Regions from separate parts of the Homo sapiens genome. Here region 2 is linked to region 1. Evidence: promoter capture Hi-C in 16 types of primary human blood cells and fetal thymus (Javierre and others, 2016). All regions are on one chromosome and are shown on one strand. Each heading gives the region's core, a stretch centred on a gene start or on the middle of the fragment in contact. The rest is flanking DNA. Distances are from core to core; before and after follow the strand shown.

Region 1 (7,189 bases), core at 3,217-5,716:
TGTTGTTGCTGTTTAAATGGGCTTGTTTTCTTGATTTCTTTTTCAGATCATTCATTGTTAATTATAGAAATGCTACTGATTTTTGTATGTTGATTTTGTAATCTGCAACTTTACTAAATTTGCTTATTAGTTCTAATAGCTTTTTAGTAGAGTCTCTAGAGTTTTCTATACATAAGATGATGTCATTTGCAAATACAGACAATTTAACTTCTTCCTTTCCAAGTTGGATGCTTTTTTATTTTTTTTCTTGCCTAATTGCTCTGGTTAGGGCTTCCAGTACAGCACTATGTTGAATAAAAGTGGCAAGAATGGGCACCCTTGTCTGGTTCCTGATGTTAAAGGGATAGCTTCCAATGCTTTTGAGTATTCTCCCTTTTTCTTAGTCTAGCTAAAGATTTTGCAATTTTATTTATCTTTTCAAAAACCCAACTCTTACTTTTGTTCATCTTTTCTATTGTTTTTCTGGTTTCTATTTCAGTTATTTCTGCTCTGATCTTTTCTTCGTTAACTTTGGGCTTAGTTTGTTCTTTTTAGTTCCTTGAGGTAAAACAATAGGTTGTTTATATGAAATCTTTCTTCTTTTTTGATGTAGGCATTTATTGCTATAAATTTCCCTCTTTGAACTGCTTTTGCTGCACCCCATAAGCTTTTGTATGCTGTATTTTCGTTTTCACTTGTCTCAAGATACTTTTCAATTTCCCTTTTGATTTCTTATTTGACCCAGTGGTTGTTCAAAACCAGGGGAGTTTTAAAAATTTTTCCAGCATTTTTTCATTTACTCTTCACTCAACCCTATGATATATGGATTCTTATCTTCCCCATTTTACAGATGAGAAAACTGAGGAGAGAACAGGCTAGGTAGCCTGCCTAAAGGCACATAGCTGTAAAAGACAGAGCCAGGATTTATACCCAAAGAGTCTGGCTCCAGAGTTAGGGCATTAAATGATTCTACTCTACCATACATCTCACTTAATCCCCCGCCAACCTTGGGAGGTAGGGTCTGTTATCATCCTCACTTTCAGATGAGAAACCAAGCCTCAGAGAGGGACACTCAGCTTGTAAATGACACAGTAAGGCTCAAACTCAGTCCTGTCTGCCTTCCCAAGCTCCACTCTGTCCTGACTGAACCATTCCTATGTCTTTGTGTCTGTCTGCACCATTCCCACCTTCTGCAACACTCTCTTTCTCCCTACTTCCACACTGGTTTTGAAATTCCCTGCATCCCAGTGCAAATCTCGAGGGGTGATGCAAATGCACTTGCCCTTCCCCTTTCACAAAGCCTTACTGATCTCAACTAGAAGAGACCTTATGTTTTGAATTCTGAAGCCCATGGAATCCCCCTTGAGACACTTCCCCTCCACCCCACTCCTCAAGATGGACCCTTGGGAGTTCTGCCTCCTCTTTTTTTTGTTCCCTCTACCTTTGCTAATAGGCCTCACTTCCACACCCTGCCTCCTCACCCTGTCTGAACCACTTTCAGCCTGATCCTGGTCCCCTTTTCTCTAGTTTGTTTTACCACTTATTGAATTCCTCTTACGTTTGTGTCAGGCCTGAACTGAGGGCTTTATATGCATTATTTCACCCAGCCTGGGAGGCAGGAAATATTAGTGTCCCAGTTTTATAGAGGAAGAGGTGGAGGCACAGAGAGGGAAGGTGACTTTCCAAAGATCACACAGTACTTGGAAAAGCTGTGGCTGGGCCCCTGCCCTGTTTTATATCCTCATGCAATTATCCATGTGGGTCTGGAGGTCAGAGAGACTTCCCCAGGCACAGAAGCCATTACACAACAGGGTGGCCACAGCTGTGCAAGGGTTGTGGGTGATCACAGTGCCCAGAAAGCACCAAGGTCAAGGTCACAATGGGAGCACTGAGACTCTTCCTGGGGGGTTGAGCAAGTTGTCTTGAGGAGAGGCCGTGGAATGAAAGCCTTGGACCCTGAGTAGGAGTTTGCCTGGACAGTAGTGTGGGAAGACGGGCAGTGGAGAGGTGAGCAGCAGCAGAGGAAATGGCAAGAGGTGTGGTTTGGGATGTGGTCAGGGCTGGAGGCCACACTAGCATGGCTGGTGGGAGCCAAGTCCTTGAATACCCAAGAGTTTGGTGCCAGTCTTCTAGTGGGCCAAGTGCCTGTATTGGTTGTCCAAACCAGCTCAGACTGGCTCCCGTGCTCACATGTGGCTCAGTGAACTTGGTGACCTCAGGAGATGTGAAATAAAAGCAAACCCTCCCCACCACCCGCTGCCTTGGTGGTTTGGAGATCCAGATCCTCTCCACGCCTCTGTGTTGTGGCAGCCCCAGGGACAGTGAGCAGCTTAGCAGGGAGAGTGGGGTCCTTCGCTTAGTACATTACATCCCGAGCTTCCAGGGCAGGATAGACTAGGGGATGAAGGAAGGAAGGAAGGCAACACCCAGAGTACTCTGGAATCTGGTTTATTAGCTGGGGGTTGAAGTGGCAGGGAAGGACAGTGTTGGGGCGAGGCCTCCAGTCACCCAGTTCCTCCCCGGGCTGCTCCTCCCGACTGGACCAGGGTAGGTTGAGCTGCTGGGAGTGGAGTATCATGGGTGGCCCTTTCTGCAGGAGAAAAGAGCTTCCCTGCTGCGGAGGGGAGGCAGGCAGTGGGCAAGCCCCCCTAGCATCCGGTACAGGCAGCGTAGGCACAGATTTCACATGTGCCCGGGTCCTCAGCGATTTCCTCTGCACAACAGAGATGGAGCCTCGTGAGAACCAGCATTTCCTCGCGAGGCCCCTGCCGCCCTTGGCCCAGAGCTTGTACGTCACCACCCAGCCCCAGGAGAATCTCAGCAGGCCCGTACTCTGACCTACTGGGCTTTTCGCCCCAAACCAGGGCACACAGACCACTCAAACCAACCAATCAAAGCAGAGATTCCACCAGAAAGAGAGGAAACTAAGACCAGATGAATGGTCTTAGTTCCCAAACCTCAGCAGTTACAACTTGGAATTGAAGTGGGCATGGAACAGACCCACCAATCAGAGCCAAGCTCCCTAGTTCCACCAGTCAGAGCTGAGCCCTTCCTCCAAATCCCACCAATCAGAGCACATCTCTTCCTCAAGTGCCACCACAGTATTCCCGAACCCCACCAATCAGAGAGGAAGGAGGCTGCTCACCCAGCCTCTGAAGTATCTCCTGGGCATTGGGCTCCTTGCAGAGAGGCTTGAGTTCTTCTGGAAAGTTCGGGTTGCTACAGAGGATGGGAACCACAGGTTCACCAGGGATGGGTGCAAAGTTCCTGAGTTTCCCAACCCTGGGCTCCTGGGGCTCCTGGAGGTCTTTGAGCTTCTTCACTGACTCCAGAGAAAAGGAGAAATTTCCATCCTGGAAGAGAGAAGCCCAGAGCATGAGGCCAGGCTGCAGCCTGCTTCCTGGCTGTGCCCCCCGTGCTGGCCCCGGTCCAGCCCAGTGGTGCTCACAGGCAGTGTTCGTGGCATATGGGAGCCAGGCGATCCACAGTGGGGCACTGTGAGGGGCAGAGTTCAGGCCCCACGTCCTGGCTTGGCTCCGTGATGCTGGACACTCTGGAACCCGCAAATTCTGCATGTTGTATGGGGAATGGAGAAAATGGGTGTGAAGCTCCAGGAACACCATAGGTGCCTAATGAGTAGGAGCCAGTGTGCTGATTTTTAGGGAGAGGCAAAGGACCAGCACCCAGGCATCGTAGTTCCACGTGGCCAAGCCCAGGCTGTCTTTCCCCTGCCTGAGAGCGGTGCGGCTGATTACTGGGCCCCCAGCTCCAGCCTGCAGCCTGGTTTTGGTTTGAGAAGCAATAAAAGGCCTCCCGGAATCTGGCTTTGATAGAGATCAGGGCCCCCGCTAGGTGCCAGCTTGGCCTGTCGCCAGCATTGGCACTGGTAGGCATACCCATCTGTCAGGACCTCCAGGGTGTCCATGTGGTTCCTGGGACCCACTGAGGAGTAAGGTCTGGATTTAAATCCAGCTCCTGCACTTCCCACAGCCATGTGCCCATGGCCTGTTACAGAACCTTTGTGAGGCTCAGTTTTCCCCTCTGTAAAATGGGACTAATGATCCCTTTCTTCCAGGTTGATAGTGGAGCCACAGTGAGGGGCTGGGGAAGGAGCCGGCACATAGGACACTCAGTAAATTGGCCAACTCCCCGCCTTCCCCATATGGTTATTCCTCTTCCCTCCACTGGGTTTCTTTCTCCTCCAAAGTTGAAGGGAAAGGTGTGTGTGTGGCTGGACTGAGCAGGAGCTCCTCGAAGAAGGCCAAGCCTGGGACACACACCCTCAATCCAGCCCCAAAGAGGAGGTACTCTCTCAGGGGACCAGACCTGGGCACTAGGGGCAGGGAGCCAGCTGGGCCGGGGTAGGGACACAGGACTCACCTGCACGGTGACCCCTCCTGCCAAGGCGGCCCAGGCCCCAAGGAGGCACAGTGCGGAGAGCAGGAAGGCATTCATGGCAGCAGTGCCCGAGAGAGGGGTGGCTGTTCTGGATGCCAGGGGGAAGCGGCGGGACTTTTAAAGAGGGCAGGTTACTGAGTAACCTGGAAGCCTCTGTCAGTCTCATCTGCTCACCTGTCAGGCCTTATCAGATAAGGCTCGAGACAGCCCTAGGAGATAAGAGCCAGGCAGGGGGGGCCCCGGCCCCTCCCTGAGCACCTACTTTGACCCACAGCCGGGCTGGGTCCTGCATTCATTCACCAACAAGGCACATTCACTCACGACTGCCCTGTGCTGCTGTGTGGGGCCGGCAGACCCTGCCCTTGAGGAGGGGGGCCCAGCCCGACAGTGAAACGCAGGGCGATTAGGGTGGGGTGATCCTAGGATGAGGTGACGGGGCTGCACTGGGGGCTGAGCTCTGGAGAATGGGTGGAAGTTTTCCCAGAGAAGGGACTGAGGACAGAAGGCCATTTCATGCCAAAGGGACAGCCAGGAGGTGAGACGGGCCTGGAATATTCAGGGAAATGTGAGAAATTCCACGGGGGAGGCTGCAGGGCAAGTCAGGGTCTGGGTTTGATTGCCGCGACCTCAAGGAAGCCCTCCGCACAGCCTGGGTTCCGTTCCACCTACTGCCCAGTTGTGAGGCGTGTGAACTTGGGCCAATGCTTTCCCCTCTCTGAGTCTCGTTGTCCCTTGTGTCCCCTGTGGGAACCAAAAATAATACCTACCTCATGGGGTAGGTGTGTGGTAGGCATTACTGTTTGGAGAATCAAGTGAGGTTTTAAAAACATTTAGCTCAATGCCTGGCACACAGAAGGTGCTCAGCAGAGGTCCATTCCCATATTATTAGCAGCCACAGCAGCTCCTGGTCCTCCCTGGCCCCTCTGGTGACCTCCTGCCTGTCTGAGTCACAGGCTGTCCCCATCCTGTGCTGGTCCCCATCCTGTCCTGCCTGCCCTGCAGCCTCAGGGTGTCCTCGAATGAGCTCCTCCCCAATCCGCCCGCCCCCCTTGCCCCTGCAGATACAGTCCCCTTTCCGCGGATCTCACTGGGGAATTGCTTGGGTGTGCCCGCGCCCCTATAGACTCTGACCCCATTCAGACTGCGCCCTCAGGGCAGCGTGCATTCACTGTGTGCTGTTGTGAGCAGGAATCCCCAGGACACAGGAGAAAGGGTAGCCCTGGGATTGTCATCTTTCTACTCAGCCAACCTGGCCCGATGCCAGGACAGCCCTAGGGCGGGAGGTTGGGCAGGAATTCCTGGGTGGGGAGAGTCAACACTGAAGAGGGAATTGGAGAGAGCAGGGCCTGACCAGGAGGGAACTGCAGGGACAAGGCCCTCAGGGAGGGGCAGGTAGCTCCTGGCCCAGCTCCCAGGGCAGTCCTCACAGCTGCACTGGATTTCCCACCCCTTTCTGGTGAGTGTGTGTGTGTGTGTGTGTGTGTGTGTGTTAAGGGGGGGTGTGTCTGCGGAGATGTGTATGTCTGTGTATGCCAAGGTGTCTGTATATACCCTGATGGGTGTGTGTAGCCAAGGTGTGTTTGTATGTGTGCTTGTGCTGAAGGTGTGTGTGTGCTGAGGCATGTGTGTACACTGAGGAGTGTATGTGTATATATGCTGAGGTGTATGTGTGTGTATGCTGAGGGGTATATGTGTGTCCGTGTACACCAAGGTATCTGTGTCTGTGCAAGGAGGTGTGCATATATACATCGAGGTGTGTGTGTGTCAGTGTGTATATACACAGGCGCGTGTGTGTACACCGAGGTGTGTGTGTTTGCTGGGATGTGTGTCTGCTGGGGTGTCTGCTGGGGTGTGTGTATGTGCACTGAGGTATGTGTGTGTGTATGCTCATGTGTGTATATGCACTGAGATATGTGTGTGTATGTGCACTGAGGTGTGTGTGTGTATGCTGAGCTGAGTGCATCTGCTGTGTTGTGCGTGTGTGTGCCGAGGTGTGTGTATACACTGAGGTGCATGTATGCGCTGAGGTGTGTGTGTGCTGACGTGTGTGAGTGCTGACGTGTGTGTATACACTGAGGTGCGTATGTGTGCTGAGGTGCGTATGTGTGCTGAGGTGTGTGTGTGCTGACGTGTGTGTATACACTGAGGTGTGTGTGTGTGCTGAGGTGTGTGTGTGTGCTGAGCTGTGTGTGTGCTGATGTGTGTGTATACACTGAGGTGTGTGTGAGTGCTGATGTGTGTGTATACACTGAGGAGCGTGTGTGTGCTGAGGTATGTGTGCGCTGATGTGTGTGTATACACTGAGGTGCGTGTGTGTGCTGAGGTGTGTGTGTGCTGACATGTGTGTATACACTGAGGTGCGTGTATGTGCTGAGGTGTGTGAGTGCTGACGTGTGTGTATACACTGAGGTGTGTGTGCGCTGACGTGTGTGTATACACTGAGGTGTGTGTGCTGACGTGTGTATACACTGTGTGTGTGCTGAGGTGTGTGTGTGTGCTGAGCTGTGTGTGTGCTGATGTGTGTGTATACACTGAGGTGTGTGTGAGTGCTGACATGTGTGTATACACTGAGGAGCGTGTGTGTGCTGAGGTATGTGTGCGCTGATGTGTGTGTATACACTGAGGTGCGTGTGTGTGCTGAGGTGTGTGTGTGCTGACATGTGTGTATACACTGAGGTGCGTGTATGTGCTGAGGTGTGTGAGTGCTGACGTGTGTGTATACACTGAGGTGTGTGTGCGCTGACGTGTGTGTATACACTGAGGTGTGTGTGCTGACGTGTGTATACACTGTGTGTGTGCTGAGGTGTGTGTG
Region 2 (6,835 bases), core at 545-3,044, 520 kb after region 1:
ATTAGAGTAAGAAAGAGGTAGAGAGGTGTGGTTAGTAGCCAACAGCACTGCTCTATGCTAGGGGTCAGCCGACTACACTCCGTTTTTCTGTGGCTCATGAGCTAAGAATACAAATGGTTTTTAAAATGTTTAAATAGTTGAAAATATGTAAAGATTCGTGTCATGTAAAAATTAAGGCTGTTTTCAAGCTCCAAACCTGAGTAGTAAGTCAGAACCATATGGTCGGCCAAGCTTATATTATTAACTATTTGGCTCTCACAGAAAAAGGTTCCTACCCCTTGCTCTAAGCAATTGGTGATGATGGCCTACAGTAGTGACAGTAGGAATGAAAAGACTCTGAATTGACATTTAGAGGGTTTAGGACTGACTCAAGAACGCCTTTAGGAGGTGGAACTCACAGGCCTAGACGGCATTGGTAGGGGTAAGGAATACTGCATTAGCCTCCTAACTGCTTTCTCTACTTCCATTCCTTGCCCCTCTGCAACCCATTCTCCACTCCGCAGCCATTTTTAAAAAGATGCCCCTCCCTACTTATGACTCTAAAATTGCTCTTCTCACTCTTCCCCTCAGGATATATTTCCAATTAAATATACCTAAGTGACTGCCCACCTCTGCAACCCAATGTCACATTCGAGTCTTACTGAACTACTTGACTGCATTTCCCGAGATCTCACCTCTTCTCGCCTGTACCCTGTGCGCGGAAAGTCAGCCCTCCACCTTCTCCCTGCTTCCACTCCCAAAATACTTCGTGGTTTTGCAGCTCTGGAGTATTTACCGTGTTGGCTGTTTAAATTTCTGCCTCCATCAGAAGGCAGAAACTGACTCGCGAACTATTCCATCCCCAGCCGATAGTAGACGCTTAAAAAAGAACGAAAGAAGGTGGGTGGAGGACTTCAGTAACATCAGGTGGCAGCCTCAATTTTATCGTTTGTGAAACGTGGATAGTAATCCCTCTATCACGTGGCTGTTGCAGGAATAAAGTGAAAAAACAAAACAGGCTAGCTTGTTCAATAAATGTGAGTTGAATTAAATCTGATTTGTGGTCAGTAGAAAAAGATGTGAATACTTGGAAAGGAAGACACATTTTTTTAAATATATGCCTGGTAAAACGGATCAGAAGGCAGGTCCCCATGGAGCACACCCTCGCCCTAAACATGCTGAACCCGGGCTGCCATAGCCTGCGTGGTCCCTCCAAGGTGACTGCTCCGACAAAAGGGTACGCTCTTCAAACGCATACGTTTAAGGCAATTCCAGAAACCCTCGGCTGTGCCGCGACTACACGGCCATTAAAGAAAAGACGACTCTATGCCCGCCGTAATGTTCTCAGATCACAGGGACCGTATTTGGAGCTGGGAGGGAGGGAAGCCTTTTCTTCACGGGGGGCTAAGGCGTCTTCGAGCCCCCTTCCAATCCCGGGTCCGGCCGGGTAATCCCTGCCCAGCGTTCGGGCGTGCCTTTTTTTCAGCCGAGACACAACCCTGAACGTGGGGCCCGCCAGCCCGGCGGCTGCCTCGTGGAAGTCACGTTCCTTCTGCCCGTCCTCTCGGGTACTCTATGGTTTTCGTGGCCGACTACTCTAATTCTAGTTCCGGTCTCTATGGCGGCCGGCGGAGGCAGGAACGGTTGTAGGTCGACTGAATTAGCCGCCAAAGGTCCAATGAGAATGGAGGACTGATAAAATATTAGCCAATAGAAGCTAGGGATTGGGGTCAGGTGGGCAGATTGACAGTACCACTGGCCAGTGAACAACGCCTAGGGCGGGTCGCTCGTAGGGCTTATCCCGCCTGTCCCGCCATTCTCGCTAGTTCGATCGGTAGCGGGAGCGGAGAGCGGACCCCAGAGAGCCCTGAGCAGCCCCACCGCCGCCGCCGGCCTAGTTACCATCACACCCCGGGAGGAGCCGCAGCTGCCGCAGCCGGCCCCAGTCACCATCACCGCAACCATGAGCAGCGAGGCCGAGACCCAGCAGCCGCCCGCCGCCCCCCCCGCCGCCCCCGCCCTCAGCGCCGCCGACACCAAGCCCGGCACTACGGGCAGCGGCGCAGGGAGCGGTGGCCCGGGCGGCCTCACATCGGCGGCGCCTGCCGGCGGGGACAAGAAGGTCATCGGTGAGGACCGGACAGGGACGGGGGTGGGGCCCTCGGGCAGCCCAGCAGCGGAACCGTTAGCCGGAGCTGGGCGAGCCGGCGGGCGCGCGGCCGGTGGGCACCGACTCCGCGGCGCGCGGCCGCCCATCCCCCCCGTCCCCCCCTCACTCCCTCTCGCGGGGACCCGCCCGGCAGGCGCGCGCGCACTGCCTCCCGCGCCCCCTGTGGACCCCGCGCGGCCGCGCGCCCCTCCCCCTGCGGCCGCGCGCCGCCGACCGCGTGTGCGACGGGGTCCCCTCCCCGCCGACCGGCCTCGTGCGCTCGGGCCCGCACGCCGTTGTTCGCGTCACCCCCACCCAGCTCCCTTCCGCGTGTGCTCGGAGGGCGCGGCGCACCGCCTACGCAGGCCGGAGCGGCTTCCCCTTCCCTCACGTGCTCTCCGTCCGCGGCCTGCGCACACACCCATCCTGGGGCCCGCGCCCCGGGCCTGCCCTGGAGCGCCCCGCGCTTCAGACTCACCCACGTGTGCGGCGGCGGCGGCGACTGCGTGGCCCCGCACCCGGGCGGTGGAGAGAAAGGGCTGTCAGGTGGCCGCGGCGGCCGGCGTGCGAGGGACCGGATGCCCAAGCCGGGCGGATTTGGAAAAGGATAGCTGGTAATCGTGGCTTGTTTTGCTTTGTTTTCTTTTCCAGCAACGAAGGTTTTGGGAACAGTAAAATGGTTCAATGTAAGGAACGGATATGGTTTCATCAACAGGTGAGCTGCCGGGCTCTGAAGCCTCCATCCCACCTTCTTGCTTGCTTCCTGCTCTGTCGGCTTCTCGGGGCTTGGGAAGCCCCAATCCACAGCTCTGTTCTGAAAGGCGTTTACTACCTCTGGTGTATTAGTATGATTTTTTGTTGTTGTTGTTTTCCTTGATTAGGGATTAGTGGATCTAGAGAATGCCTTTGTTTTGCAGCTAAATATTAATTTGAAGCTAACTTAAAAGGCTTCGTCACAGTACAAAGCAATTCAAAAGGCAAGCGGAGTGAATGAGCCATTCCTTAACAGGGTAAACGGGAAACTACGGTCCAGTACATTTTTATCCTTGTCATCTTTTTCTACTTTATTGAACTCGGTATTTGAGAATGTGATCCACTGACATCGGATATTTATACATTGTTAACGTTTTAGGGTAAGAGGATTTGACTATATGAGGTTTTGTCATCTTTACCGAGAGGTTGTATTGCCTTTGTTTCACGTTTCATTTTAATACCTGAGATAAATTTTGTCTTAGCACAGCTTTGACCAGAGAGAACTGTTTTTATTTGCTCATCCAGTAAATAATATATTTACAAGAAAGTGGTTTTTTTTCCTTCTTCCGTTCTTATTTTTCATTCTTCCTTGTCCTAGAATCATAACTGGTTAAGTCGATTTCTGTTAGATCCCTGGCTGTAGCTTATTAGAGTGGCCATAGTCACTGGTAACTTGACATTTTTCTTCCTGTTTGAAGGCAAAGCTGCAGACACGTCTTTAGGACTTACCCTTCGGGTTGTTTGTAGGAGTGGTGGTGGTAACGTGCAGTAGACGCACTGTATTCCATGGGCTCCCTTGTAAGCCGGGCATCATTTTCAAGATGGCTGCCAAGGCTAGTAGTGCTAGTTACATGGGTGCAGAGCACTGGGTATGCCAGTAGCAATCTTGGCCTCACAGGTATGGTACTTAGTGCCATCTCAGCATTGTCTTGCTTGCTTACTGTAGAAGACCTAAGCAGATGATTAAAAGAACAATGTGGAATGGACAACAAATGGGCAAAATCAAGCTTAAGGACAGAATCATTGCCTGATGAAAAACTGTTCATTAATCAATCATAGAGTATTGTGGAAACACTCAGAGTAAGAGATAAGCATTTGGTGATCTATTCTCTACTTTTGCAATTGTGGGAAAATATTTTGTTTCTTCCAAAATCTTAGGATTTTCCATCTTGTTATATACTGTTTGCTTTCCTGGCTGGCCGAAACTACGTTTTTCATTAATTTTTTGATAATGGCTTACTAGCAAGAAGGAAGGGAATGCTTATATATAATTGGCATACTGATAGCTTTTTAACTGATCTCTCTGAACTTTCTAGTGTTTTAGTTTGTATTTCTGTCTTACTCTGATTATCGTTACTAGTCTAACCCTTAAACCAGTGGTTTTCAAATTTAAGTGTGCTTACCTTGGGAGGGTGTGATGTAAGTGGTGAGTTCCTCCTTCTGAGCCTTGGATTCATTAGGTCTGGGTACATTTTTAACAGGAATGATAATGGTCTTCGGGCCATACCTTCAAAATCACTGCTTTTAACCCTTGACCCAATGTAATGGTAACTCTGGTGTGCAAATTTGCAGCCTTTTCAGCGGATAGATTGCAGGTTTTGTATGTGTTGAAGAAGTTTTAGCATGTGCCTTGTTTCGCTGCATTTTTTTTAAGTAGGCATAGGTTATGACATTTTTTGAAATCAACAGTTTTGTCCAGAATAAGAGTAATATCTTTACATTTTTTAAGTATTTAGTCCATGAGATACTGTTCATTGAATATCTCTATTCTGAATTGGAATCAACTCAATTGGTCATCCTCCAGGGCAAGTTATGAATTGGCTTTTGATGGTCCTTTGTTTGGACTATCCTAACCTCAATTATTTTGTCAAATTAACTGGTTAAAATGTTCTTTATGCTTCTGAACTGGTTTTAATGATTCTGGGACTTTTTTAATAAGATGCTGTAAAATCTGACTCCAATTAAATACAGGGAAGATTTGCTTTAATTAAGGAAAATGTATGTGATAAAAGAAATCACTTTGGAAGCTAGCAGTTGGTTCTATATGTAGTTCGTGTAGTGGAACAAATAGACTTGGCTGGAGGCACCTGTCTCTTATGAGGGAGGGAGACAGACTGACACATAACGTGCTGTTTTCTGTATAAAGGAGAGGGTGCAGTGTTCGGGATGACTATTGTGACGACTTTTAATTGGGGTTTTTGGATGCGCTGGATTATATATGCTAGGATTGTAAGGAATTTTTATAATTACAATATTGTATGTAAATTTTCTGCCTTTAAAGACATAATTTCATTGTAAATGTGTTTATTCCAGCCTGAATTACCACCTGATGAATTGTTACAACCTTGTTAGAATTAATTCATGAAAGGGCTTCTCCCTGATGGTTATATTGTGAAGAAGGTGCTAAGTAACATGAGCATAGAGCTTTTAAAAATAGCAGAAGTTTTGGCTTTATTTTGTTAGACTGTGTAATCTAGAAATTCTAAGAAATTCATTGAGTTATTCTTTTGTGAACTGTGTCTACAAAACATAATCGGAGAATGTGACTAGAGGGGTTTATTAGCTCCCCCCAGATTACTGTTGAATTTTGTTAGTGGTTGAGTATTGATCCATATTCACCAAAGATTACCATGAATTGGCAACAGTTTATAGTGACCAGAATAGGAATATTTTTCTGTTTCCAGAGTACTTAAAATGTTTAAATTAATAATTCTTAATGTTTTGAGGTGAAAGAATTTGGAGCAGAGGTCACAAATTTGTGACCTTCTGGCTAAAACTACTCCCAGATGCTTTGATTAGACAGTACAGTATTTTTTAAAGGAATTGGGATTAATTACTAACATTTATAATTCAGGAGATAACACCAAGTAATCCAGATTATTATATTTTTAAGATCTGAACTTTAGCTGGCTTTGGGGGCCTGTATTTCCACATAAGTAAAAACCACCTGGCCATATTGTCACCACATTTAGGTGGGGTATACTTTTTTTACGACAGCCTTCACGCCTGGCCTCTGTGTATGCATTTGAGTTTATTACCCATGGTCTAGGAAGATGTAATAAACCAAGCCAGGGAAAGGTTTGGCTATCTCTCTTTAGTCACGCCTATCAGGTTTAGTCTCCCTTTGGGGTGGGGGCTCCCTTGTGGGGATTCCATATGTACATAACTGATAGGTGACTTCCAACACATGTTGGTGAAAATAGATACAGCTAACAAGTATTTATACTAGGGTCTATAGTAAGTGCTTAAAATGAGCCAATTTACTTAATCTTTAAAAACCTTTGAGGCGTAGGTACTGTCATTCTGAGGCACAAAGGAGTTGTTACTTGTCCCCATAAGCATAGGTGATAAGTGGCAGGATTGGAACTGTTTTTTGACTCTGGAGTTAGTGTTCACCAACTGCTCTTATGCTGTCTCTGAAATAGACCCTAGCCATTTTCAATTTGGTTGTTGTCCACATAGTTACAGATAATTTCTTAGGGTGATTATTTTTAGCCGTTGAAAGACTCTTAAATGATCCAAGTATGTCACTGGGGCTCTTGTCTGCTGACTTGCTAGGTCCTGGATTTGAAAAGTTTTCTGCCTTTCACTATCTACTTTGTGAAGTTTGGGATTGTTAAAAGTTCTAGTTTAGCATGTAGGTCAGCTATACAAATAAAAGGACTTGCTTAATTCCTGATACTGGGAGGTGAAGAATTAAAGGAGAGAATGTTGCACCTTATCTCCCTTAATCTTTTTTTTTTGTATGGCCTGCAAGGTAAGACTGAATATTGCCTTTTTAAAGGGTGATTTTTCTTGAGATGGAGTTTCACTCTTGTCACCCAGGCTGGAGTGCAATGGCACGATCTTGGCTCACTGCAACTCCGCCTCCCAGGTTCAAGCGATTCTCCTGCCTCAGCCTCCCGAGTAGCTGGGATTACAGGCGCCCGCCACCACACAGGCTAATTTTGTATT

What was found. Contacts are between HindIII fragments. The CHiCAGO score rates a contact against its expected background, and 5 or more counts as called.
Region 2: the fragment with the promoter of YBX1 here is called in contact with the fragment with the promoter of GUCA2A in region 1 in 3 of 17 cell types (endothelial precursors, M2 macrophages and erythroblasts); the score reaches 6.1 in endothelial precursors.

The regions. Positions count from the first base shown.
Region 1 is chr1:42,160,279-42,167,467 of GRCh38, forward strand. It overlaps GUCA2A (guanylate cyclase activator 2A), which reads right to left and starts at 4,467. Exons shown (of 3, transcript NM_033553.3): 1 at 4,360-4,467; 2 at 3,125-3,332; 3 at 2,412-2,692. The coding sequence starts at 4,434. The coding sequence ends at 2,628. RefSeq lists an enhancer at 4,327-5,291. The HindIII fragment of the contact is 7,781 bases long and covers 645-7,189 here.
Region 2 is chr1:42,680,624-42,687,458 of GRCh38, forward strand. YBX1 (Y-box binding protein 1) reads left to right here and starts at 1,795. Exons shown (of 8, transcript NM_004559.5): 1 at 1,795-2,108; 2 at 2,780-2,843. The coding sequence starts at 1,943. It also overlaps a transcript of PPIH not described here. RefSeq lists an enhancer at 1,451-1,500 and silencers at 1,941-2,140, 2,331-2,440, 2,551-2,700. The HindIII fragment of the contact is 3,657 bases long and covers 230-3,886 here.